Regions from separate parts of the Homo sapiens genome. Here all the other regions are linked to region 2. Evidence: promoter capture Hi-C in 16 types of primary human blood cells and fetal thymus (Javierre and others, 2016). All regions are on one chromosome and are shown on one strand. The core of a region is centred on a gene start or on the middle of the fragment in contact, and the rest is flanking DNA. Distances in the headings are between cores, read along the strand shown.

What was found. The method cuts DNA at HindIII sites, captures the fragments that hold promoters and counts their contacts. A CHiCAGO score of 5 or more calls a contact.
Region 1: a contact is called between the fragment with the promoter of RRBP1 here and the fragment with the promoter of MKKS in region 2, in 1 of 17 cell types (non-activated CD4 T cells). The highest score is 7.5, in non-activated CD4 T cells.
Region 3: a contact is called between a fragment that was not itself captured here and the fragment with the promoter of MKKS in region 2, in 1 of 17 cell types (activated CD4 T cells). The highest score is 6.5, in activated CD4 T cells.
Region 4: a contact is called between a fragment that was not itself captured here and the fragment with the promoter of MKKS in region 2, in 3 of 17 cell types (total CD4 T cells, activated CD4 T cells and naive B cells). The highest score is 11.7, in total CD4 T cells.
Region 5: a fragment that was not itself captured here is called in contact with the fragment with the promoter of MKKS in region 2 in 1 of 17 cell types (non-activated CD4 T cells); the score reaches 7.0 in non-activated CD4 T cells.
Region 6: a contact is called between a fragment that was not itself captured here and the fragment with the promoter of MKKS in region 2, in 1 of 17 cell types (non-activated CD4 T cells). The highest score is 7.0, in non-activated CD4 T cells.
Region 7: a contact is called between a fragment that was not itself captured here and the fragment with the promoter of MKKS in region 2, in 5 of 17 cell types (activated CD4 T cells, total CD4 T cells, total CD8 T cells and 2 more). The highest score is 12.0, in activated CD4 T cells.

Annotation. Positions count from the first base shown.
Region 1 is chr20:17,680,213-17,683,653 of GRCh38, forward strand. It overlaps RRBP1 (ribosome binding protein 1), which reads right to left and starts at 2,030. Exons shown (of 25, transcript NM_001365613.2): 1 at 1,816-2,030. RefSeq lists enhancers at 1-523, 715-1,387, 2,641-2,700 and silencers at 961-1,270, 1,301-1,350, 1,381-1,710, 1,941-2,360. The HindIII fragment of the contact is 11,518 bases long and covers 1-3,441 here.
Region 2 is chr20:10,432,351-10,436,017 of GRCh38, forward strand. MKKS (MKKS centrosomal shuttling protein) reads right to left here and starts at 1,872. Exons shown (of 6, transcript NM_170784.3): 1 at 1,758-1,872. It overlaps SLX4IP (SLX4 interacting protein), which reads left to right and starts at 2,955. Exons shown (of 8, transcript NM_001009608.3): 1 at 2,955-3,103. LOC128706665 reads right to left here and starts at 1,872. Exons shown (of 3, transcript NM_001394148.2): 1 at 1,758-1,872. It overlaps LOC128706666, which reads right to left and starts at 1,872. Exons shown (of 3, transcript NM_001394149.2): 1 at 1,758-1,872. RefSeq lists enhancers at 1,719-1,778, 2,669-2,898, 3,059-3,108. The HindIII fragment of the contact is 4,604 bases long and covers 1-2,970 here.
Region 3 is chr20:17,570,081-17,573,646 of GRCh38, forward strand. It overlaps DSTN (destrin, actin depolymerizing factor), which reads left to right. Exons shown (of 4, transcript NM_006870.4): 1 at 1-131. The coding sequence starts at 129. Among named protein-coding and RNA genes, the nearest start is that of DSTN, 1.8 kb to the left of the region's middle. RefSeq lists silencers at 1-125, 146-435. The HindIII fragment of the contact is 938 bases long and covers 782-1,719 here.
Region 4 is chr20:18,568,830-18,572,703 of GRCh38, forward strand. SMIM26 (small integral membrane protein 26) reads left to right here. Exons shown (of 2, transcript NM_001348957.2): 2 at 407-731. The coding sequence ends at 576. Among named protein-coding and RNA genes, the nearest start is that of SMIM26, 3.3 kb to the left of the region's middle. The HindIII fragment of the contact is 2,280 bases long and covers 1,127-3,406 here.
Region 5 is chr20:18,132,463-18,136,018 of GRCh38, forward strand. No RefSeq gene overlaps it. Among named protein-coding and RNA genes, the nearest start is that of KAT14, 3.6 kb to the right of the region's middle. The HindIII fragment of the contact is 751 bases long and covers 1,482-2,232 here.
Region 6 is chr20:18,282,583-18,286,326 of GRCh38, forward strand. No RefSeq gene overlaps it. Among named protein-coding and RNA genes, the nearest start is that of ZNF133, 4.1 kb to the right of the region's middle. The HindIII fragment of the contact is 4,298 bases long and covers 1-3,744 here.
Region 7 is chr20:17,963,979-17,967,453 of GRCh38, forward strand. All of the region lies in intron 1 of SNX5 (sorting nexin 5), which reads right to left. Among named protein-coding and RNA genes, the nearest start is that of SNORD17, 2.8 kb to the left of the region's middle. RefSeq lists an enhancer at 2,232-2,311. The HindIII fragment of the contact is 815 bases long and covers 1,020-1,834 here.

The sequences.
Region 1 (3,441 bases), core at 780-3,279, 7.2 Mb after region 2:
TCAAACAAGGAGTGTGAGGAGGGAGGCGGGGCAGTGGGAGAATGCCCCCCAGCTGCACAGGGCGGGGTAACATTCGCAGTTGTTCTTCCTGGGAGTGCCAGACAGACGTCCTGGGTCTCTGGGGACACCCAGTTCTGAAGAGGTATCTAATGTGAGATATGAGGCCCTACCAGGCCCATTTCTCCAAATTCCTGAAAATGCCATCCAGATGGCCCCTACCCTGAAGGTTCCAGCACGCAGAGTGAATAGCTGAGCAGTGACGTGGGAGGCTCCTCAGGTCCCTCAGAGTTTCATTTCCTTGGTGCTTCCCAGTCTCTCCTAACCTCTGACCTCTCAGAGTAATTGCCAAATTGCCTTCTGTTTGTACAAGGTCCCAGCACTTCCCGGCGTGGTTCCCGACCCTGTGAGTGGGTGGTGCTGTCTTCAGGCCACAGATAAGAAACTAGGATTCAGAGGGGCTATGGGACCTGCGAGTAGGCGGCCAGTACGTGGTCCGGGGTGTAGAACCCCGGCTGTGCAACTTCTGCAGCCCCGCGCCCGCCGCAGTGCCGGAGCCAGGCCCCACCTTCCTCCCGTGTCCAGCACCCCCCAACAAAAGCATCCCAACTGAACAGCCAACACTTGTGGCTCCTTCCTACAAGTGCTGGGTCTCCACAGCTTTCCTCGCAAATCGAAGCTAACAGGAGCCCCGATTTGCAGACCAGGAAATGGAGACCCCGAACGAAACAACTTGGTCGGGGTCACCCTCGCCAGCCGGGGCACTCTAGAGCTAAAACTCGCGACTTATCATTCGGAGAGGGGTCCCTGAAGCACTGCGGGCGCCCCACTGGAAGCGCAGACCCCGGCCTGCCTCCCCTAATCAGGGCGCAGCGGGAGAGCCGGCCGGGCCGGGGCGGGCACCAGGCCGGGTGCCAGCGCGCTTGGCCGGCCCGGAGGTGTCCGCTTCCGCCCGGGGCTGGCACCGCCGGCCCATTCATCGTGGCCGCGGGCGGGGCGGGCCGGGCCCCGGGCGCCCTCGTCCCCCCGCCGGGAGCCCTCGAGCCAGGCTCCGCGCAGCCCAGCCGGGGAAACGGTGGCCCCGGCCCCGCCGCCAGGGGGAGCAGGGAGCCGCCTCCCGCACTCCGGGAAGTTGCCACCGCGGCCGCCCGGCGTCCGTGCCATGGACAGACCCGGTCCCTGCGCCGCGAGCCCTGCGGCCCCGGCCCGCCCCGTCGGGGGCCGTCCCAGCCCCGCGAAGCGCCAGCGGGCCGCGGCCCGGGACCGGCGCGCTCGGCCCGTGGGCCCCCATTCAATCCCGCCCTCCTCCCCTCGGCCGGCCTCCGCCGCCTTCCGCCCGCACCCCACCCCTCCGGCCCGGACTCCAGCCCGGCAACGTCATCCGGCGGCTTCCCGAAACTTAACCCCTTCCTCCGCCAGCTGTGCGCCGCCCCGCCCCGCCCCGCCGCCAACTTTCTTCGCCCAACTTCGGAGCGCGCTGGCCGGCCCGACGGCCCTGCCGGGAGGGAGGGAGGCAGGGAGCGGTCGCCACGTCGCGCCCGTCTGCCGCCGCAGCTCCCCGGACGGCGAGGGCCGCGGGGTCCACACCACGGGGCGCGCCCTGCCTACGCCCCGGTACGGCGCTTGCCCGGCACCCCCGCCCCGAGTCCGACCCCGACCCCGATGGTGCACGGCCGCGGCGGCAGGCGGCGGGCGGCGGGCGGGCCGGGGGAGGGGCCGCCGAGGAGACGTGTCACTCGCGGCGCAGCGCGGCCGGCCCCGGCCCCCCGACGGCCCGGCCCGCGCGCGGCCGCTGCAGGGCCCGGCCAAGTTTCTTACCTGCAGCCAGAGACGCGAGAGGGAAAGCGAGAGGGCAGGAGCCGCCGCCTTCGCAGCCGCCGCGGAGCCGGGAGAGAGGAGCCGGCCAAGCCTCCGCCAAGAAACCGCCCCCGAGCAGCTGTAGACGCTGCGACCCTGACGCCGCCCGCCCCGTCTGCCGTCCGCTCCGGCCGCTCGCTGGCTGCGTGCGCGCGTGTGGAGTCGTGGCACTTTCTGCCTCAGAGCTGGCGAACGGCCCCCTCCGCCGGGATCGCCGCCTCCTGCCTTCCCCACCCGGGCCAGCCATTCATCGAGCCGCCTCTTCCCATTGGTCCGCACCCCGCCACTCTGCCGGTCGCTGGCCAGTCAGGACGCGGGTGGCCGAGCCGCGGCGGCGGCCATTGGGCAGAGAGGAGGGTCTCCACCTCGGCCAATGGGAGAGGGGAGGAGCTGCGGGGAGGTGAAGGGGGCAGGGCTGGGGAGAGGCGGGGCCGAGCGGCGCGGCGCTCGGCCGTGCGCGGGGCGGGGCGGAGCAGGAACGCCCCGCCCACCGAGGGGGGGGTCTCCGGCCAGCTCCGCCCACTCTGGGCCCGCGGCGCTCCCAGCAGTCTCTGACTAGGATCCGGCTCTGCCTAGGCGGGAAGCAGAAGGTTCGGGTCCCGGCGACCCCGGGCCTGCGCCTCTGGATACCGCTGGGCTGACATGGCGGTGGCTGAACAGGGTTGCGCAACCGCGAACAGCCAAGGAAGCTGCTTTATTTAAACCCAACTAACTTCCCCCGAAGCAGCGCCCCCTCGGGCCGCCGGGTATGAGGACAAGCTCTGCTGGGGGTCAGCCCAGGGAGAGCAAGTTCTTATCATCAAAGAGATTGCAATCAGCACCAGAAGGAATTTCCTTCAGTAAATGGAGGAATTGGGGTGGAAGAGCCAGAAGGTGCACGAGGAATTGAAGCGGATGTCATCGCCCTCGTTGTTAGGGAGGGTACAACTGAGGCACGGTCTATTTAAGATACTCAACCAAATCACAGCCGGCAGAGCAATAATTACAATCCACTCTGTGGCGTTTTATTCCATGCGTTGGGGAAGGTGAGAGGTTCTAACCTAAGAAAACTCATCCGTGTCCCACAAAACGGAGCAACTGGTACTTCCTCATTCCCTGACTTTCTCCCCAATATCAGCCAACACTCAGTCTTCATAATTAGTCAAGTCTTTAAATTAAAATAATTTTAGGCTTGATTTTTAACCATTATGTCAGCGTCTCTTAAAGCCAACCCTTTGAACTTGAGCCAAAGCCAGCTTCTTTGGAATTTTGGATTCTGAGCGACCAAAGGCTGCCTAGACTGCCCCCCATCACTTCCCTAGCTCCTGTTGCTGCAGAATCCCGTGCCTAACATCTATTTCTTGGACAATTTTCAATCTTCCCTGTCCCCATTTGTCACTAGTACTGTACTAGCTGTTGTTAGAAAGATGTGAAAAATACAAGCCTTCATGGGGAATAAAGAGCGATTGGGTTGAAATTAAACTGTTCATTCCTATTTTTAATCTTGGCGGTTCCTTAGCCCATTAATGATTAATCAGCAGGAATTAACCTGGATTAACTCTGGAACACTCAGTCATTTTCCAGCAGTGAGACCCGGCTTCAAATGAA
Region 2 (3,667 bases), core at 622-3,121:
AGAGTCTGATTCTCAGGAAACCCAACCTAGGACAATCTAGAAACATCTTGCTCAATATCAATGTGCAATCACCCCTCAGTATTTGGGGGATTGCATCCAGGACCCATGATGGATACCCAAATCCAGATGCTCAGGTCCCTGATTTAAAAATTGTGTAGTAGGCCAGACGCCGTGGGTCATGCCTGTAATCCCAGCACTTTGGGATGCCGAGGCGGGTGGATCACCTGAGGTCAGGAGTTCAAGACCAGCCTGGCCAACATGGCGAAACACCATCTCTACTAAAAAATACAAAAATTAGCCAGGTGCAGTGGCGGGTGCCTGTAATCCCAAACTTCTCCGGAGGCTAAGGCAGGGAGAATTGCTTGAACCCGGGAGGCGGAGGTTGCACAGTGAGCAGAGATCCAGCTTCAGCCTGCGCGACAGAGCGAGACTCTTTGTCAAAAAAAAAAAAAAAAAAAAAAAAAATCGTGTAGTTTTGTACACAACTTGCCACCTCCTTCCATGTACCTTAAATAATCTCTAGGCTACTTATAATACCTAATACAACGTTAAATGCTATGTAAGTAGTTGTTACACTGCAGTGTTTAGGGAATGACAAGAAAAAAGGTCTGCACGTGTTCAGTACAGATGTAACCATCTTTTTTCCCCCAGAATGTTTTTATTTATTTATTTTCTTAAATAGAGTCTCTGTCGCCCAACCTGGAGTGCAGTGGCGTGATCTCCGCTCACCGCAACCTCCGCCTCCAGGGCTCAAGCGATTCTCCTGCCTCAACCTCCCAAGTAGCTGGGATTACAGGCGTGCGCCACTGCGCCCGGCTCATTTTTTTGTACTTTTAGCAGAGACCGGGTTTCGCCACGTTGGCCTGGCTGGCCCCAAACTCCTGACTCAAGTGATCCGCCCGCCTCGGGCTCCTAAAGTGCGGGGTTACAGGGGTGAGCCACCAAACCCCGCCGCCCCAAAATATTTTCTATCCGCAGTTGGTTGAATTCACACATGCGGAACTCATGGATAGGGAGCGTATTGTTTCTCCCCCATCACTAGAACATGGAGTCAGGACCGTGCAAGTCCCTCTTGGTCACTGCCGTATCTACTAACTCGGCAGTGCTGTAGACACGTGTATATCTGTTTATGGATAAACTGAAGATGTTAATGAATGAATGAAACCGTCATATTGAGTCTCTGAAACGGCAACAGGATTTGGGTATGGTCTTATCGGGGAGGAAGACGAGCATGACCTTAGAGGGTCATCCCTACAAGGTCCACAGCCCTGCAAGCCCCGCGGCTGCTTTCACGTAGCTGGCAGGGCCACGCTGCACAACGTCTCTAACGCCGTCGGAGGGCGGCCCCCACCTCCCGACAGCCTGGGGTACACCGTGCACCCTCCAGACAGTCAGGGGCACACGGGGCCCCTCCCAGCGAGGGAGGGGACGGGGAGTCACAGGTTCGGCGTAGAAGGCGGCAGCGCAGGTGGGAGCGTGGTGAGGCGCCACTCCTCCAGCTCTCCCCACCGGCGGGAAGACCTCCTCGCCGCCCGCATCCGTGCCGACCGCAACATTTACCATCGGCAGCTATTTCAGAGGTCGGTCTTTCGCCTCCTACAGAGAGCCAGCCTCCTCCTTGTCCCCGCCCTCAAATATCCTTCAGTGAGGACACCGGTGACCTTTGGGGGTGGAGAGGGAGGCGCCTACAAGCCCCTTCCCCTCTCTTCGGCCGGACACAAAGCGGGCTTTTCCACCTAGAGTCCCAGCGCTCTCACCTGCGCACCAGCCGTCGCGCCGCCCCAGGCCGCCACCGCCAGAGGCCCCAGAAACAGATCTCAAGCAGCCGCTGCTGCCGCGGATCCCGACAACCTTCGCGTCGCGCGAGGGCACGGAGCACGCGCAGCTCTGCGGTCGACGCCGGGCCGCCCCCACTCCGCTTCTCCGGGTTTTCCGTGAAGCTCCAGCCAACAGCGGCCGTCACCGGAAAAAACGGGGAGCGAAGTTTATTCAGCGTATATTCCAGCAAATTGTTGAAACTGAAATTTTAAAAGAACGCATAAAATTTAAATAACATATCAAAATGGCACAGCTTCTGCCTTTTGGTGAGCGCTTGACAATGATTTATTGAATGAAAGAAAGAAATAGTCCACTGCGCTCTGCTCTCTGTCCTGACATGACCAATTACAAAGCGCTTGGATTTGTCGCTCAGCGCCAGTATCCCGCCTCTCTGTGCGGTTGTCTGGAAAATCAGGATTTTTACTCTCCCGTAACTCCCGGGATCGGGTTTGGAAAACGGACATGCGCCGTGAGAGCTAGTTGCCTTCTACTAAAGCATCCGCCCTCAGTCCTTCCTGAGGGCTTACAGGGAAGTGCGGAGTTTCGCAGCTCGTACTCTTCACAGATTAGATAATTCACCCGGCATTTCCCCATCCTGCTTCTGGGTTCCAGGACAAAACTTTTATTCTCTTTTAACATTAAAAAACATATAGGAAGTTATGTTCAAACATGGCTATTTTTATTAAAATTTATCCGGCACTGTGAAAGCTACCTTTCCTTTCTCACAATCTTTCGCACCGAATATATGTTCCATTCTTGAGCTAGTCATTTTCCAATGTTAAGAAAACACACCACAGAAAAGCGTTTTTTTTTCTCTCGGTCAGTTCAACTGCCTAGCACCGTGAGTTACCATGATACGTTATTTGCTAATGAGAGTCATTGGGGTCCCAGCCTTTAAAAATAGCCTGCGTCCGGCGCCATTTTTGTTTTGGGCCCACTTTGAAAGCCGCGATATTCTGAACAGAGGCCATTTTTCTTTTGGGCAGATTCCACGGGCCATCGAAGTGTTTCGCTGCCATCTTAAATCCTGGCTGTGGCCTCAATCCTGCAGCGAAGCTGCCCAGATCATTTTGTGTTTGGGCGGCGGCTGAGTTCCCAAACGCGCGCGGAGACCCTGGGAAGGAGGAAGTAAGCGCGAAAGTGCTTCCCTTAAGCTTCTGAAGGTTGGCTGCAGTTCCGGCTACCTGTGTAGTCCGAGTTTCCACAGCCAGGTACTACTCCGCCAGTGACCCTGGACAGTAACAAAACATATAAAGCCCGAGCCCAAACCCCGCCACCATCATAGGTAAGCACATGGACCTCTGACAACCTCAGATGTTCCTTCAAGTGAACTGAACTGTTTGCCCATCTCCTCCCTCCTGGTTTTTGGCTTTGATTTTTTGAGACTTTTCCGAATCCTTCTCCCTGTACTTCCACCTTTCTTCATTGTTTTCAAAAAGCCAAAAAGTTGCTAAACATCAGGATGCCATGAGCATGGGCATTACGGTGGAGATATTATTCAGGAAAGTTAACTGTCTTTGCACAAAGGGAATGCAGTAGATGGGCCAGGTATTTGTATCAAATCATGGCTACCTGCATCCAGCAGTACAAATACCTCCCCCTTCCCAGACATTTTTGGAGATGTGAGGTAAATACAGATTGCGTTTGTATATACTTCCCATTCATTCATTTATTCATTGCATTTCTTGAGTACCTAATTTGTGCTAGGCCATAAGGATTCAGGAGTTAGCTAAAAAAAATCCATTAACTCATGGAGCCTACATTTTATCACCTTGACATCTACTAGGTTGAGACAAATAACAGTATTTTATGGTTCTTAGCACTGCTAGACTGTATAAACAAGTATTTG
Region 3 (3,566 bases), core at 1-2,500, 7.1 Mb after region 2:
GGGTAAGCTCGCGCCGCCGCGTCAGCTCAGCGCTGGGTCTCTCGGTCCCGCAGCCGTGAGGAGGACGGTCTGCATACTCGCTGCCCGCCGGCTCCCTCCCCCGCGTCCCTGCGACCGCCGCGGCGAAGATGGTGAGTAGGAGGGAGGCCGAGGCGTGGGCCGAGGCGGCCGGGAGCAGTGTGTCTCTGGGGCGCCGCGGAGTCGGGGCTAAGGGGGTGAGCCGTGCCTCAGCCCGGGGAGGGACCCGGTCCGGCTGCAGTGTCCGGGCTGCGGGTGAGGGGGGGTCTCTGGGCCTCCGTCTCCCGCCGTCCTGGCTGGGCCCCCGCGCCCCGGGGTGGATCCGCGGCTGTTGCGCAGCTCCCAGCTGGGGCGAGGCCGCCGCCCTGAGCGTGGCCTCTGCGGGTGTCTCCAGACCCGGCCTTGCAACAACTGGCTGGGGTCGAGCGCCCCCACCCGCTCTGTGAAATCCATCCGGGGGTCTGCACACCGAGGCCGGGGAGTGGGGGGCGGGGGGCGTCGGAATCCGGCCACCGTCCTTGTTGGCGTGGGTTTCCCCAGAGCTGGCGCTGAGGCGCTTGGTGACTTGTGCGCGTTCCAGCCCTTGAGGTCTGTCCATCTCAATAAGGAAGATAAAGCCTTTATGGAACAGTCCTAGAGCACGGAATGATCGCTAACGAGCAGGATCCTGGCATGATTTAGAACGGGGTGGCCTTGCAGCTCCTTTGTTTTTTTCTTTTTATCTGGCAATCGGCTTCCAGCAGCACTCTCGTCGTGCTTGTCAAGCTTGGCAGTGTCTGTTTTAACCCTTCCCTGCCCGATCTGTCCGTGTATGGTTAGAATTTTTTTTCTGACCTGTAGACAGTTGGACTCTGCCAGAACTTGGTGCGCAAGGTGTGGGCATGATGCTGGGATGCTGATACAACCAAATTTAAGAGCTTTAAAAACCATTAAAATACTGGAGTCACCAGAAAGTAAACAGGTGCTCATTAGTATATTCTATATGATGGACATTTTGCTTAATTTACATATTTTCCCCCTTTACACTGTCACTCTAATTAGCTATTTAAAAACGTATTCTCAACTGAACTATCAGTTGGAACATTTTGTCGTTTTCGTTAGTGTGCACACACTGTTACCATTTTTGGTCAGTGATTTGCAGGCGTAGCCTTACCAGACTTTGCTAGAAATATTACACTGTAATTGCATCTGTCTAGAAGCAGTTGGTACCAGCTTATCTGCATACAAACTGTTTTCACTGTATAACAGTTTTGGTTTTCTTAAGTTACTACAACTTCCGTGAACATGCAGGCGGCCCCTTAGTGAAAGAAAAGATAAACCGGTAGTTTCTTGATGACTGTAGATATGTATGTAATAGGGATTTGATACTGTTCAGTTTTTGGTTCTTCTTTGGTTTAATGCTGTAAGCTACAAAGTATCAGCATCTTGAGTCTTTTTAATATCTAATTATTAGAAATTTAATAACATTTTAAATGTATATGCTACTTTATACTGAAAGACTTAATCTAGGGGCTTTGAGTTATGGTACGCTTAAGACCATTCACTCTGTGAAAGTGCTTTGAAGCTGACTAGGGTCTGCTCTAGAGACTTCTGATTTGACATTATGCTTTTTTATTGAGTGGCTAATACAGACTTTATTTTTCTGTTTGAAAATAAGAGACCAAACATTTTACCTTTAGTTAAATGCTTAGTTTTAGTTAAAGCTTAACTAAATTCAAGGAAGGAAGGGTCTGTTATATTTCCTGGTTCTTGTGAGGAGTGGGAGAAATAAAAATTAGAAATGAGCGATTTCCAAATACGCTTCAAAATTGTTGGCTTTAGGGAGATCAAGAAGACCTTACAAGTTACTCTTAGAGTTCAGATTATAGACCCCCCATTTTTAAAGGTTATTTTTGTTTTTAGCCTTATGAGCGCAGGAGCATCTTTGTTTAGTTCAGTGATTAGAGAATATTGTGGGTATTATCCCAGAGTCTAGCACTTTGCTTTTAGCTCTTTTGGTTAGATGCTTGGTTCCAAGTTTCTTTTAAGATTAAATTTTAACTACCGATGGGTTTGTTCTAAATTAGCAGAATCACTTCCTTGTACTCACCAAGTCTTTTAGAAGCACCTGAAATAAAGCAGTTTGAAACCAGCTGGGCGCTTCAGGATGAGATTAGATGTTTTCAGATGTCTCCTCCAACAAAAAACAAACAACGTCTGCCTCCACGTGAACCACAATTACAGACCCCAAACAAAACGTGTGTGTGTGTGTACTGGGTGTGCCAGCCTCCTTATACAGAGATTGTTTAGTAGCCCATCATCAAGTTACTAAGGTTATTTGCTCAGTAGTTCTACTGGATATGGATTGAGACATCACACCTAGACTTGCCTAGCTCCTCTTGTAACCAGAGTATCTTTTATGCTTCTTGGAAAGTAAGAGTGTAGTCTTGCCCCTGAAGTAGAGTTAAAAGGTTTGCACGATAATCTAACCCTTAACCTTATCCTAATCTGGACTGTGGTCTCACAGACTGAACTAATTGGCGCAGTATTCAAGTATTCTAATACTTGGTGATTAGCAAAAACACTACAACCCAGTGAAATAGGTTGGGCATGTATTCACATGCCTATTTAACATATGAGAAAACAGATTGTAAAGGATTAATTGACTTGAGACAAATCACCTTTTCCAACTCCAAGTTTTAAAATAATAATTTTGAAACATTTTAAGCAGAAAAGTACACAGAATAACAGATCCTTTTGTACAGGAAAAACAGGGCTATCTTATTGCCATATTTCAGGTTTTTATGTTATCATTACAGCTAAATATGCATCATCTTCCTCATCCCACTCCCTTCCCTCCCTAGAGTTATAACCATTCCTGTGTCAAAGACATAATATCCTGGCTGGTTAAGGAGATGATTTTATTCAGGCTATTGCAATTAGGAGAGCATTCCTGATTGCCTTATTTGAAAATATGCAACAGGCCAGTTCTTTGCAGTTACCTGTTTCCCAGAACACAAAACGGTGGGGTGGATTAACCATCACTGCTTTCTGAGAACACAGAGCTCAGGTAAAGTTCACAGTAGTCACCTGAAATTGATATTCATTGATAGTTCCATACTTTTAGCTACTTAATCATTCATATGTATTGCCTTGATGTGCTTTTAAAACTTACGTAAATACTGTGCTTCATGTATCCTTTTGCAGCTCTGTGAGAAAAAATTAAACTTTGTGGGGGTGGTTTTTTTTTTCCCAGGGGAGGGCAGCTTTTGGATTTATTTGTAGCTTTGGTTCTTCAACTGCTGAATTGTGTTCTTTTGTATGATTGTGCAAGTTTATCCATTCCCCTGTTGATAGACATTCAGCCATTTCCTAATTTTTTGCCTTTTTTTGGTCTATTTAAAGTTTTTATAATAGGCAATTTCCATGTCATATATTGCTATATATTACTTCTCTAGCCCCAGTGTGTATCTCTCCATGGTGTATATCTAGAAGCGGAAGCCCTGGATTGGAGCATACATATTTTCTACTCTACTACTGGTTCGTTCTGGTTGTATCTCATCATTAAC
Region 4 (3,874 bases), core at 1,017-3,516, 8.1 Mb after region 2:
GCACTGGCGCTATCTTGGCTCACTGTAACCTCCATCTCCCAACTCAAGCAGTCCTCCTGCCTCATCCTCCCCAGTAGCTGGGGTTATAGGCCCATGCCACCACGCCCAGCTAATTTTTGTATTTTTAGTAGAGATGGGGTTTCACTACGTTGGCGAGGCTGGTCTCAAACACCTGACCTCAGGTGGTCCACCTGCCTCGGCCCCCACAAAGTGAGATTGGGATTACAGGCGTGAGCCACCGCACCCAGCTTTTCTTTTCCCTTCCTTTTCATTCCTTCCTTCATTATTGGGGTTGGAGAGAGTGGATGTAATTCTTACCTTAGTTAATTTCTAAGACTTTAATGACTGCTTTCTAAGTTAATAATTCAGGTGTTCTTTTTTTTTTTTTCTCTTAATGGTGATAAAGTAGACCAAAAGGATGGCTCAGCAAGTGAAGTACCCAGTGAACTCTCTGAACGCCCAAAAGGATTTTATGTGGAAACAGTTGTCACATATAAAGAAGATTTTGTTCCAAATACAGAAAAGATCCTCAACTATTGGAAATCATGGACTGGTGGCCCTGGTACAGAACCATGACTGGCTGCTGAATTCTGAAAACCAGGACTTGGTTCAACATTTAAATTTGATAGTTGCCCTGATTCCCATTTTGGGTTTGTGAAAAGTGTATGTATTTAAATTTGCTGTAAAACATAATCACTAATAATATGCAATAAATATTTTCTTGAAGGAAACTATCTGCGTTTTCTTTTTTTTTTTTTTTTTTGAGACGGAGTCTTGCTGTGTCACCCAGGCTGGAGTGCAGTGGCTCGATCTCGGCTCACTGCAAGCTCCGCCTCCCAGGTTCATGCCATTCTCCTGCCTCAGCCTCCCGAGTAGCTGGGACTAAAGGCGCCTGCCACCATGTCTGGCTAATTTTTTGTGTTTTCAGTGGAGACAGGGTTTCACCGTGTTAGCCAGGATGGTCTCCATCTCCTGACCTTGTGATCCGCCTGCCTCAGCCTCCCAAAGTGCTGGGATTACAGGTGTGAGCCACGGTCCCCGGCCTACTATCTGCATTTTCAAGAGGTGTTCCTCTGTATTTGCATGAGTGAAAGATTGCTGTGAAATTTCACATAGAGCTTCCATAAGCTTGATTTCCTGAAACTAGTTAATGTAGATTTATATTTCTTTCATGTTGCTATTAGGCACAGCTTTAGTGGTCGCTTTAAGGTTAGTTTCAGCAAATCTCCATATTCACTTTGGGATTCACAGTAGCCCTTTGGGTACTACTGCGTACTGGGTAAGTATGATATAAATTTGATTGTAACTTCTGAATTAAACAGACTGGACCTATTCTTTAGGACCAGTGCACATACCCCTCATTCCTTCAGCAAGTGTGGATTACCCACCAACTGTGGCCAGTGCTATTCTAATGCTGGGAATGCAGTCAGGACGACATGATTGATGCTGAACCAGTTTCCTCAGTGGTCTCTTGGTTGCAGGCAACAAACACAAGTGAGCTTAAATCAAAAGTGGGTGTTTATAAAAAACGTGTATTGGTAGCTCAGAATTAAAGCAGAGAGTATGGGCCAGGAGCGGTGGCTCACGCCTGTACTCCCTGCACTTTGGGAGGCCGAGGGGCGGATCACAAGGTCAAGAGATCGAGACCGTCTTGGCCAGCATGGTGAAACCCTGTCTCTATTAAAAATACAAAAATTAGCTGGGCATGGCACCGCGCACCTGTAGTCCCAGCTACTTGGGAGGCTGAGGCAGGAGAATCGCTTGAATCTGGGAGGCGGAGGTTGCAGTGAGCTGAGATCGCACCACTGCACTCCAGCCTGTTGACAGCGAGATTCCATCTCAAAAAAAAAAAAAAAAAGCAGTATGTTGTCTTCAGAAGGCCTGACACTGGGACCAGAATGCAGGCAGCCACTTGTTGAGCCTGCCTGGGCTCTTGGCCTTGCTTTTCTTATTGCACACCAGCTGCTTTTCTCACCTTTCTGGAGTAATACAAATATCCCAAGAAGATACTACCTCCCATGTGCAGTGCCAAAGTCTGACCAGCCTCTCCTCAACCTGGTCTTTGGCTTCCACCCTTGCGAGAGACTCAGTTCAGTTTTTATCAGATCCCTGCCTATGGATTATAGAGTACTGCCTCAGTTATGAATAAAGTGGCATTTGTTTCTCATTTAGGTAGTGTTTTCCTGTTCATAGCTGTTGGGACCCTGTGAGTAGAGATGTGATGTGTGGTAGGACAGGAATTGGGCATTTCAGGGTTCCTCTACAGTACTATGACCTTCAGACCCTCATCTTGATTTCTCATTGGTGTCAGTTCCACCATTATGGGTGGCCTGAGCAGTGCTGTGGTGCAGTCAGCCTTAGTGACAAGGATTCCAAAATCACAAGTAACAGCTCCAGATGCTGGTAGCAGAGACTCAGCTTCCCAAGGGATATCAGGTCAAGCATGGATTCGTGCCAATTGGCTGTGTATTCCAGTGGACCATCTTGGTTGGCATCAAACTGATGAATGAGAAGCAGTGTACGACAGTAGATGGGGAAGGTGAGAAGCAAGTGAATCAGAAGTATGGGAGAAATGGGAACAGTAGCATGAACGTTTTGGAAGACATTTCCTAACATGAGGGCTTCCAGAGAAACAAAGGGCAAGGGCTGAGGGGCTGTGGCACTTGGCAGGTGAGAGTTGTTAATAGAGCACACCGAGGATAAACAGCTGAACTTCTACTCTCACCTGGCAGTCTACCCAGGATTCATACACTTGTGGGGCTTAAGGGGACATTTGGGTTAGCTTTCCTTGGGACTTGGCTGGGTTTCTTTGCTAGATCTAATTTATTCTCTTATTTCAGCCCAGCGTTCTCCTGAACTCAAGATCCATGTCCATCTAGCATTGCCACTTGGATATCTAGCCACCTCAGCTTTGTCCATAACTTAAATTGCTGTCATCACCCACAAGGCTGCTCTTCCTTCCGTTCTCTTTCTCAGAGAGTACTCAGTTCCTCAAATTAGGAACCTATCATTCTAGACTTCTCCCTCTTCTTGTTCCTTCTCCTTCCTCCAGCCACCAGGTCCCATCATTTCTACTGCAAATATTCCACTCCATTCCCACCTTCCCATTCCCTTTACCACTACCTTACTTAAATCCTCCATCCTCTTTGCTTATGTAGCCTCAACTTCCTACTCTCTTTGTCTCTACTTGGAGTCCCCTCCAATTGGTTTCTACAGTATTAGCCAGCATGACTTTTTTGAAATTAATTTTTATATTTTTAACAAAGCAACAAATGCATTAAAAAATTAAATAATGATCAAAAGTTTGTAACCAAAAAAACAGTTCCTGCTTTATCCCTCCTTGCTTTCAACTATTAGGTTTTTTTTTTTTTTTTTTTGGTATTTACGTCCACATTTCTAAATAATAAGCTTTTACTAATATCTTTAATTTATCAATCATGTATGGGATTTATTAATGAGGATTTGATCCTCCTTTCCAACTGACTAACCAATAAAACTATTGCATATTTTTGATGAATCAATAATTAATATTTACCCTGTTTTAACTATGCAAACATAGTTTGTTGATAAGCCAAGTAAGTGAGCTATAATTGTTTCTCATATAACTTTTCTTTCTGGAGTTAACTGCACTCTTTTTTTCATTTGCTTTGTTTTCTTGATGTTTCTCTCTCATTCTTTCCACATCCTCTAACCTCACAATATAATTTTCCACACAAACCTTTCCAGTTTCTCTTTTCTGTTTTTAAATCTTGGAGCTCTTTGTCTTCTTGGTACAATCTGGACTGATCACTCTAGTTCTGCTTTGCATCCATTTTTCTTTGCTATTTGCTTTGCCATCCTATAATGGATCTCTGTTTTCTCGATACTGTGTCCC
Region 5 (3,556 bases), core at 607-3,106, 7.7 Mb after region 2:
TGCCACTGCACTCCAGCCTGGATGAGTGAGATCCTGTCTCAAAAAAGAAAGAAAAGAAAAGAAGGAAGGAAAGGAAAGAAAGGAAAGAAAGAAAGGAGTTAAAAAAATACTCTCAGGAAGATCCTAGGAAAAAGTGCAAACCATGACAAGAGCATCTAACTGTATTGCAAACATATGAAACGATATCACTGAAGGGGTGGAGGGCAAAGGTGCTGATTTGGTAACTTTGGAGTAAATGAGGTCTATAAAGCCAAAAGCAATAGGAACTGCAAAAAAGCATGGTACTCTAGTAGGTAAAGTTGTTTCCCACAAAAAAAAAATGACATATAATTATGAGGTAAACAATTCTGAAACTGCTATACATGTACACTGGAATCAAACAATTGCGCAAGTGGATGGTGGAAAATGGGAGCCTGAATTCTCACTGATGGAGTAGGAATTTACCAATAAAAAAAGGAGGTTAGAATAATCCATCTGGTAATGGACTAGAGTTGCAGACATCAGCAATATCTCACATTTTAGTCAATATAGATTCAGGTGATTACATATAGAAATATTTGCAGATATGTAACATACACAGATAAGTATACACACATATATTTATGTGCTTTGTCAGCTGAGAGGGCCCAAAAGAAACAAAGCCCCAGTAGCAATAAGCATGCCAGGACCTATATCTTGGATTCCAATATTATTCTACAATAAAAAGAACCTTGGATTCTTGGAGAAATGGCAGATTCTGAGACTTGGGCAGGAAATATACAAGATTAGCTCAGAATATTGTGCAGTGTCAGAAAATAGACAAGTGCTAAACAAGAAAAACACACATTGATGAGGGTCCGTCAGAGAAGCAGAGGAGCTGAAAGATCTCCCAACGGCCAAAGCGGGAGCCATCTGAGCAACAAAATAAAGTAATATTGGATTATAACCCAAAGTATAAAATAAATACCCACCAGTCCACACTGATAGAAACAAATGATTGAATCAGTTACTAAATGGGAGAGAAGAGACAAACCTGTGCAGAATTTCAGATTACTTATATAGATACTGCATTGAATTCATGGTGATTAATTCCAGTACCAGAAGAAAAACTGGCTGTTTTGGAGTTCCTGAGAAAATATCTATTTTCTTCAACATGTCACCTTCCTAAAATGTTTTCAAGGGTAGTTTTAACTGTTTTTGACTTTTTCCTTATGTGCTGACTTCAGAGCCTCAGCCTGAAGAAGGTGGGATTTCGTGGCCTTGTCTGCCTATAGAGCCCACTACAGGGCCATACACAAGGCAAGCCTTCTTGCTTGCATTTAAAATAGTCATAATGGTGCTTTATGCGGTGCCATGTGGTGTGATGTTTCTGTAATCATTTAGTGCTGAGACTGATAAATTTATCAGTCACTGGTGCCAGTTCAGCTGACACCCTCCACCTTCTTCCCAAACAAACCTCCTCCTTCCCACCTCCTCCTTCTCTCTCAGCCCCAATGATGACAAGCTTCTGATCATTGCCTGAAGCCTCTGCCTTGACCTATTGCATTCATGCCCACCATCAAGCCCAGTTTAAACCCGTGCCTCCTACTGATACCTCCTGCTAGGGTACTAGTGATTTACTATTCTTTAAGACAGAAGTGACCCGAAACCCAGCTCTCCCAGGATAGCTGCCAGGACCTGGCCATGATTCAAGCCCAAATAACATAAGCCAAATTACACACTCAGTGAGGAAGGCATTTTTTTCAAGTCCCCACCCTTGTGTGAGTGAAGGTGGAACAAAGATTGTGTGACCATGTTGTTCAAACACAGGAAAATGACTGCATTCCCTCCCCTTAGTTTTCATTTGTTGATTCTTCTCCAAGCCCTGACTTCCAACTGTACTTCTTTTTTGATGCTGCCTCTTGCTTAGAGGATTCTGAAGGGAAGGACAGGGTAGTATGCTGTTCTAAAGAGTATGGGACTTTATCCTGTAGGCATGGGGAGCCACTGAGCGGTTTTTAAGGTGGTCAGCTTCCTATTTTTGTCTTTGGAGGTAAGTTCACTCTGAAGGCCAGCCAATGGCAGGGCAAGGCACCCACTGTCCTCTCCAGGAAAGCAGTGGCCATTCTGGGCACACCTAAGTCAATCCAAAGCTGAGAGGGGCAGGAACTGATGTGATCTTAGGATGCCGAGACACTAGAATATAGCCAGATACACAAGGTTCAGATGTTCTGGCCTTACAAGCAAATTGTATTAAATCAGCCATGCTTCCTAAGCTTCGTCCCACCTTGGTAAACATAAAAAATAAGGATATCTGTACAACTCACTGGGATCAACTTGCGTGAGCTTGGATAATTCTAAAAGGAGCTTCATGGATAATAATTATTTACATTTCCTTTATATGGTACTCTTATAAAAAAGAAAAAGAAAAACAAAAAAATAAATGACATATAATTATGAGAAGAAAAATAAAAGCAAATCTTGGGGTAGATTTAAATATCAACTTTGGGTAAAATTTCCTGATAACATTCTTCTTGGAGTCTCTTTTAAATATCAAGTTTTGTGTTAAAAATAGTTCCTGATCATTGCTCCTGCACATAGTTCTTGATCAAGATTTTTTTTTTTTTTTTTTTTTTTTGAGATGGAGTCTCACTCTGTCACCCAGGCTGGAGTGCAGTGGTTTGATCTCGGCTCACTGCAACCTCCACCTCCCGGGCTCAAGTGATTCTCTTGCCTCAGTCTCCCAAGTAGCTGGGATTACAGGCACCCACCACCACACCTGGCTAATTTTTGTATTTTTAGTAGAGACGGGGTTTCATCATGTTGGCCAGGCTGGTCTCGAATCCCTGACCTCAAGTGATCCACCCTCCTTGGCCTCCCAAAGTGCTAGGATTAAAGGTGTGAGCCACCACGCCTGGCTGATCAAAATCTTTTTAAATGATCATCTCTTTAATTTTTGATAGTTACCATGGAGAAAAAACTTTTTTTTTTTTTTTTTTGAGTTGAAGTCTCACTCTGTCACCGAGGCTGGAGTGCAGTGGCTCACTGCAACCTCTGCCTCTCGGGTTCAAGCAATTCTCCTGCCTCAGCCTCCCAAGTAGCTGGGATTACAGGCATGCGCTGCCACATTTGGCGAATTTTTGTATTTTCAGTAGAGACGGGGTTTCACCATATTGGCCAGGCTGTTCTCGAACTCCTGACCTCAAGTGATCCACCTGCCTTGGCCTCCCAAAGTGCCTGGAATACAGGCATGAACCACCGTTCCCAGCCAAAAAGCTATTTGATACAAGAAGTGATGATAAAATGTAAAGCCATCGGCTATGAACCAATGGGAAAAAAAAGAAAAAAACACACAATAAAAAATCAAAAGGAAATAAAGACAATAAAAGAAACAAAAAAGAGCCATTTTTTTTCTGTTCGTATAGTTATGTAAGATTTTGTATAGAAGTGTATCATGCATGTATGTGTGACCACACAGCCTTGGTGTGCCACTGGACCAATTTTCACAAACACCCAGTACCAGCACCCAGTACTAGAGTTCTAGATCAGCCTAGCCAACATGGTGAAACCCCATCTCTACTAAAAATACAAAAATTAG
Region 6 (3,744 bases), core at 421-2,920, 7.9 Mb after region 2:
ATTTTCTAAGCAGGTGCTGCTGTAAATGGAATCTTTTCCTTTTACTGTCTCTTCTTTTGCTCTTTTCTTTGCCTAAAATGATTGGATGACCACACAAATATTAGCCAAGTTATCAGGTTTCCAGTTCTACATCTCCATGTTGTTTTTTGTATCATTCTCACATGATTTGTTTCTATCAGAGTCACTTCAATTTCTTTTTGATACAGAATCATCTGTGGTTAGAACTGATGAGTTGGTAGCTCTGCCAAAGTATTAATACCCTGTTAACAACATACTTGACAGCAGCAACAATTAGGAACAAAGACAAAAATAGTATAACTAAAATTTGCAGCGACTCCTTAAACCAACTTCCTACTTGGCCAAACCAAGCAATAAAGAAAATCCAACAGCTGAATGTATCCTTTCTGGGACAACAAATCGGCCTGTTTTCTGAACTTTATTATTCAGAAGCAGGTATTCAAATACAATCAGAAGTGACAGCCAGCACACAAATGCCACCTTGTTTGGTCCATAAATATCCCAAGGCAATGCCTTTGTATAACATCTTTGCAGCAAATGATGTAAAGCTCTTCTGCTGAGTTTGTATAGTAGACGCAGATTACACATGCAGTAATTGCCATTGTAAGGGACAGGCTTCAAGTGTATCTTACTAAATTCAGGCACTCAGAACCAAGAGAGAAACTCGCACACAAAACAATAAAAATCAGTATCTCCAACTACTCCTGAGAAGTCTGCACTTCAACAGGCACATTGATGAGAAAGAATTAAGTCATCTGAGATCTCACTAGGGAGTGTAGATACACTAAATCAAATATTGACATAAAACCATTTCTCAGGGGCAGACTCCTTCTTCTTTCCAACACTGACATTGTGTGGTAATCATACCTTGGCATGAATACCTCAAGCCAGGAAGGATATAACCAGAGTAAATTTGGTACATTCTTTAAGTGTATTTCTCAGATGGCAGGGGGCTGATGTAACAAAATATGCCTGCAGTTACAATTTAAAAGTGTACTTAATTCAACCAGCACAAGGACACCGACTAATTGAATATAAAGAGTATAATTAGTTATGTCCCATAATCATCAGAACAATGTCTTTACAGAAAAGGTAAAAGACCTTGTAGTTGAAATACTCATGTTGTATTTCCAAGAATAGTATTACCAATCACATATCTTAAAATTTTTTAACCCTTTAAACTAATTTTATTTTACTTCAAAACTGGTTACTGAATATCATTAACCTTTGAGGTATATTTCTGTGAGTTAAGCAGAAACATAAATTGACTTTTTAAATGGATGAACCTTATTAAACTTGCAGCTGATTTTTTTGTCAATATTCTAATAAAAGGAACCTCGCCAGCATTTCAGAGAAAGGGCTACAAACCCAACAACCAGTTAAAGTTCCTTATGTAACTATGGTCTTATTGATTATAACAAATTAGCTGCCTATGTGAGGATTTGTCCTAGATCTAGGATAGCCAGAGAAATAAATATAAATTTTGTGACTTACAGTAGTTATCAAATTAACGTGTTCTGCTGACCATGATGGAATAACTGGTATCAGATGATCATTCCCATTATAAATAACCATAACACTGGGGAAAGTATAAAGCAACTATTTTCAGGCCCTGGACTATAGGTTGCACAAAATTGTGATCCCTGAGAGATGGGAAATTCAGAAAATGAGTTCTACGTTTGCCCTGGCTAACTGCTTGGGGACAATTTCCTGACCATGATATGGGATGGTGGGGGAAAGACACACTAGTCTCACTGAGATGAGGAGGCAAAAAAGACTTTAGGGATGGTGAAGCAGATGACACTGGTAGGGTAGGTCTCAGAAAGGAGGCAGCTGTGCAAAGAGGGGAAAGCCCACCTCAGCTGAAGTTGAGCTTTGCTTGTGCAGGGTAAATATGCAATGATTACCAGAAAACAGCTGCTTGAGAGAAGAATGGAAATACTAGAAGTTTAGCAGGGCTGGCGAGTGTAGGCATTCCAGCCCAATCAGAATAAACAAACCTCATTAACACCTCAATCATTCAGCTGAGAAACCAGAGAGGCCATGCCATAAAATAAGGACCACATCTTATAGTAAGGTCTTCTCAAGATATGCTCTAACTGGAACTAAATTAAGGACGTAAAAATATCTGCATGGGTTAAAGAACTTGGAGTTTGAGTCCTGCAAGTTAGAGGAGCCTGGTAAACACTTTGACCTTTCAAAGATCTATCCTAACAAAGAATAAAATGAAGCCTGCACAAGTTCAAAACATTCATCCAGTAATTAAACTGCCTACAGGTAAAAAAAGCACTTTCAGACTAACGTAAGAGAATTTAGAATCATGCCACAAAAAATGTCCTGCATAAAAAAACTTTAAAATTACTAGACATGCAAAAAAACAGGAAGTGTGACCCACTGTTAAGAAAAAAAGGCAGTCACAGAAATAGATCCTGAGATGGTCCAGAGGTTTCAGCACACAGACTTTACAGAAACTAGCATAAACATATTAAAGAAAAATACACACATCACAAAGAAACAAATGGGGGTGGAAATCTCAGTGGAAATTATTTTAAAAAGAAACAAGTGGGAATTCTAGAACTAAAAATGTAACAAATAAAAATTTAAAATTTGCTAGATGGGCTTAAAAGATTGAAGATGGCAAAAGGAAGTTTCAGTGAACCTGAAGACAGGTCAATAGAAACCAATCTGGCAAACAGAAAAACATACTGAGGAAAATTGGATAGAGCTTCGGGAACAATATCAAATGGTCTAACATACGTGTAAGTGGAGACTCAAAAGGAGAAGAAATTGAGAAAGAATTATCCAAAATGAGAAGAAACTGAGAATTATTTAAAGATAATGATGGCTAAAGTTCCTAAATTTAATGAAAAACAATAGCTGACAGGTTAGAGAATCTCAATAAACCTCAAACTGGATTAATACCAAACAACAACAAATGATTTAGACACATGAATGTCAAACTGCTGAAAACCAAAGACAAAGCAAATTCTCAAGAGCGGTGTGTGTGCGTGCACACACACACACCCCTATCTACCCATTCTCAACTATACCAAAACAAACAAACAAACAAAAAAACCTGACCTTCCCTGGGGAAATATGAATAACCTGTCTTTATTTTCAAGTTCAAAAGGCAAAAGTCAGCTATATCTGGCAGCTGCTCCATGCACTGCCTTACCTGCATGAGGGATTTAAGCTGCTCAGTGGGTCAGATTTTAAGCTGGAAGAGAAGCCATTATCACCCAGTGAGACCAGATTGCTATAGTTTTCCAGCACCATCTCCCAGTATAGGTCCTTCTGAGCAGGACTCCACAGGCTTCATACCTCTTAGATGAAATCCACAGCCACAACCTTGAATATTATGAAAAACCATTATGCCAAACACAGCTCCGCTCACTCTGTTGACATGTGTGCCCATGTTGAAAACAAGGGAGCAAGAGGGCTGCCTTGGGGAAGATAGGTAAAATATCTAGGTCCTGCTTTTGACTGTAACTCTGGAGCTTGGATTCCAAGACCATTAACCCTATTCACTATCCAACCAGCATCACTTGCTGTGATCCTAGTCTGGCTATTATGGGCTTTACAAATGAAAACACAATTCCTAACCTTGAGGTGTTTTACATTTAATAGATAACATATTAAAAGAAAATATAAGTATAGAATCATGGTCTTTCTGAGATTTAGGAATTTGGAGATTCTTTAATCTAGCTGCTTATATTCAATTTAAAG
Region 7 (3,475 bases), core at 177-2,676, 7.5 Mb after region 2:
GCCCATTCAGGAGGCTGAGTGCAGGAAGATGGCCTGAGCTCAGGAGTTCGATACCAGCTTGGGCAACACAGCAAGACTGTCTTGAGAAAAAGAATTCTAAACAAAATAAATACAAGAATTCAAAACAAAATTCATGAAAGATATAGGAAGGGTGAGGGAAGAAGTCCAACATTTTATCACCCACCAGCTACCAAGTATCTAACAGCACAATGTCCTAGCTCTGCGGTGCTCTTGAAAGAAAAAGTGAAAACCCTGACAAGGGAGCCATCTGGATTTGTATTCCTCACCATTTACCATGACTAGAATGCTTAGGAGTGTGCCCTTCAGAAACTGAGCTTTTCAGGCAGAAAATTAGTTTTCTCTCCAGACCATATAGGAATGCCTAAAAAAGTTATGCCAAAATGTAAAAAGAAGAGTCAAGCCAAGGACCCCCATTTTTAAACTTAAGTGTTGGCTGCCCCTCAAACTGCAACTTACTCCTCCTGGGGTACTATGGTTTGCCTTTAGGCAGCATGTGAAGGTGTGAAGATCTCTTTTAGGAGATCTTGTCAGAGTACCTCAATGGCCAATCAGAAAACAGGTATTAAGGGTGAAGAAGCCACTTTTTGGAAAGTTAGATCATGCAGAGAAACTTAATTTACACTTTAATAGCCGTTTCTCACTATTGGGATCATTAAAAGTTAGACTGTTTCCTTAAATACTATTTAACTTCACTACACACTGTTGTGACCACGGGCTATTTAAGACATTCAGGGTACTAACCTATAGATCTGTTCTCACCTAATTTGCTCGAGCATCAAGACCCTGATAATAAAGACAGAAAAATGCTGAAACAGCAGAATTTTAAACCAAGTTCCCCTCTGCAGCACAAGAAACTCAGGTAAGTTTCCAGTGTCCAAAGCCTACACTCACAAACACAAACACGAAGCCCTCCCTTTGCAACCCTCAAGTACCCAGAACCTGCTGAAGAAAACCATCTTTCACCACCTTTTGTTAAGGTTCCTCAGTATTAGTGGAAAAGCTTTATTCTCACAAAGATATCCAACAATGCTAATTTTTACATGGCATGTTATTTCCTTAGGCAAGATTAATAGAAAACCTGAAAAATTCGCAACAAGCACACAAAGACTAGCTTCTGTAACACAACCTGACCCCACCCATATCACACCATTTTAGAAGGAAGTCCGTTTAAACCAGTGATTCTCAAACAGGCAATTTTGACTTCTTATCACCATGGGAGGGGAGGAGGCCGCGTCCTAGCAGAGGCCAAAAACAGTTGCTTCACATCCTACAACCCAGAGGGCACTCCTCAACAAAAGTGATCAGGCTAAAATGTCAACAGTGCTCCCCAGGTTGAGAAACTGAATTTTAAACTCAACCTCTAGTTTAGATGACCACTAGGTCTCACCGAATGAGGAGTTTACAGCTCAGAAACAAATCTAGAAAACTTAACAGCCTTGGCCAAGCACAATGGCTCATGCCTGTAATCCCGGCATGTTGAACTGGATGGTGAAACCCCATCTCTACCAAAAAATACAAAAATTAGGTGGGCATGCTGGTGTGTGCCTGTAGCCCCAGCTACTCAGGAGGCTGAGGTGGGGGTGATCACCTGAGCTCCCCAGGTCGAGGCTGCAGTGAGTTGTGATCGTGACACTGCACTCCCGCCTGGGTGACAGAGCCAGACCCTGTCTCAAAAAAAAAAAAAAAAAAGCCTCTTGGCCATTTCTACCTATGGCCAAAATAATGTGAACAGATAATGACCTTTTAGAGTATTCACAAATGGGGATCTTAAGACACCGAGTACAAGTTACTGAACTAGAACTAAGGCGTGGGAAGCTTGATACGTCATACTTCCTCAACTTAGAAAATAGTTGCAAGGGTAGCATAAAGCTTCAGTCCACAAAGTTTGTAAGTTTGGACTTGCTATGGTATTGGTCAAAGTTCAGGATTGTTCCTATACTAACCAACTGCACTCCATTCTAGCTAATGGAGAACAAAAATACCCCTAGAGGCAGCTTCCACACCAGTTAAACACGAAACCAGAGCAGCAGTACTTAGTCTACAAACACTCCTGAGTAGGTAAGAGGACAGATATCATTCACCAAAGTCCCTGTAACCAAGCAGTAAGTTAAGGCCAAGTTGTTACTGTCAAGGAAGGAGAACCCCCTAGTTAAAAATAGCACTAGGCTGCGAAGGTCGAGTTCAAATACCAGCCTGGCCAACATGGTGAAACCCGGTCTCCACAAAAATACAAAAATTAGCCGGGCATGGCGGTGAGCGACTGTAATCCCAGCTACTTGAGAGGCTGAGGCAGGAGAATCGCTTGAACCCAGAAAGCGGAAGTTGCAGTGAGCTGAGATCGAGCCATTGCGCTCCAGCCTGGACGACAGAGCGAGACTCCGTCTCAAAAAAAAAAAAAAAATCAAAAACCAGTAAATAGAGGACCAGTTAGGAACCAAATTAACCATGCATCTCTTCCCCTGAACTATTTTCTGAGGAAGAAGGCAAACCCCAACACCCTCGGCTAAAGAATGTAACAAAATGCCAGTGTCTGGCTACCAGACACGACTGACACAGTATTCCCTTTCAGTTTTGCTGAATTGGCCAAAATGAGTATTGGGCTAGAATTCAAAATCCTGAAGAATCAAGTATGTCCCCCTACCTTAGTGAGTCTTAATTAACTCCATCCTTAGGGAGAATTCCAAACCAAAGTAAATTATCAGGAGGGCATTTAAACAATTTAAGTAACACACATTTCAGGTAACACACAAAACATTTCAGTTGACTACCGAAATTGTATTATGGCAAAAAGTTGCCCAAGACTTAGTTTCCCATTATTTCATACTTGCCCCAAACTCCCTTTCAGTTAACCATAACACCATCTAGGCCAGACCACAGCAGGTTATCAGCATCAGCAGAGATCAGAAAACAAAAATAAAGCCACGCGTCAGGGTAATTATTTATTTTTATTGTCTCTTTATTCCTGTAATGTAAAAAGGAAAACAATGTCATGTAACTCTCTTCGCTACAGATACGGACAGTTTCTGTAGCCTCTAAAACAGGCAGGAAATGGCCTTCATAACCATTCTCCAATTTTGCTGGAGGATCAGGGTGGTGGAAGTCATTTTAAAAACCAGCTGCAATATACTGTACTACCAGAGAGTGGGGTGAAGCAATTGAGTCCTTTTACCTAGCTGACTCCGAATCAAGACAGCTAAAAGAATGTACCAGAAAGAAAGAAAAAATAAAATGCTACCAAAATCCCAATCCATTATCTACCCTTTATGGAGAAAAGTACCTTTATAATGTTTTACAAAGAATCGTGGTCTCAAGTTTCCACTTTGTTTTAGTAATAAAGAACTTTCAAAAAAAAAACCACTCTAAACAACACCCTCCTGTATAGAAAGCTCTATTTTAATAATTAATGCAATGATACCCTTGTTGGAACAATCCAGCCGCTTTGAAACTCTGGTAT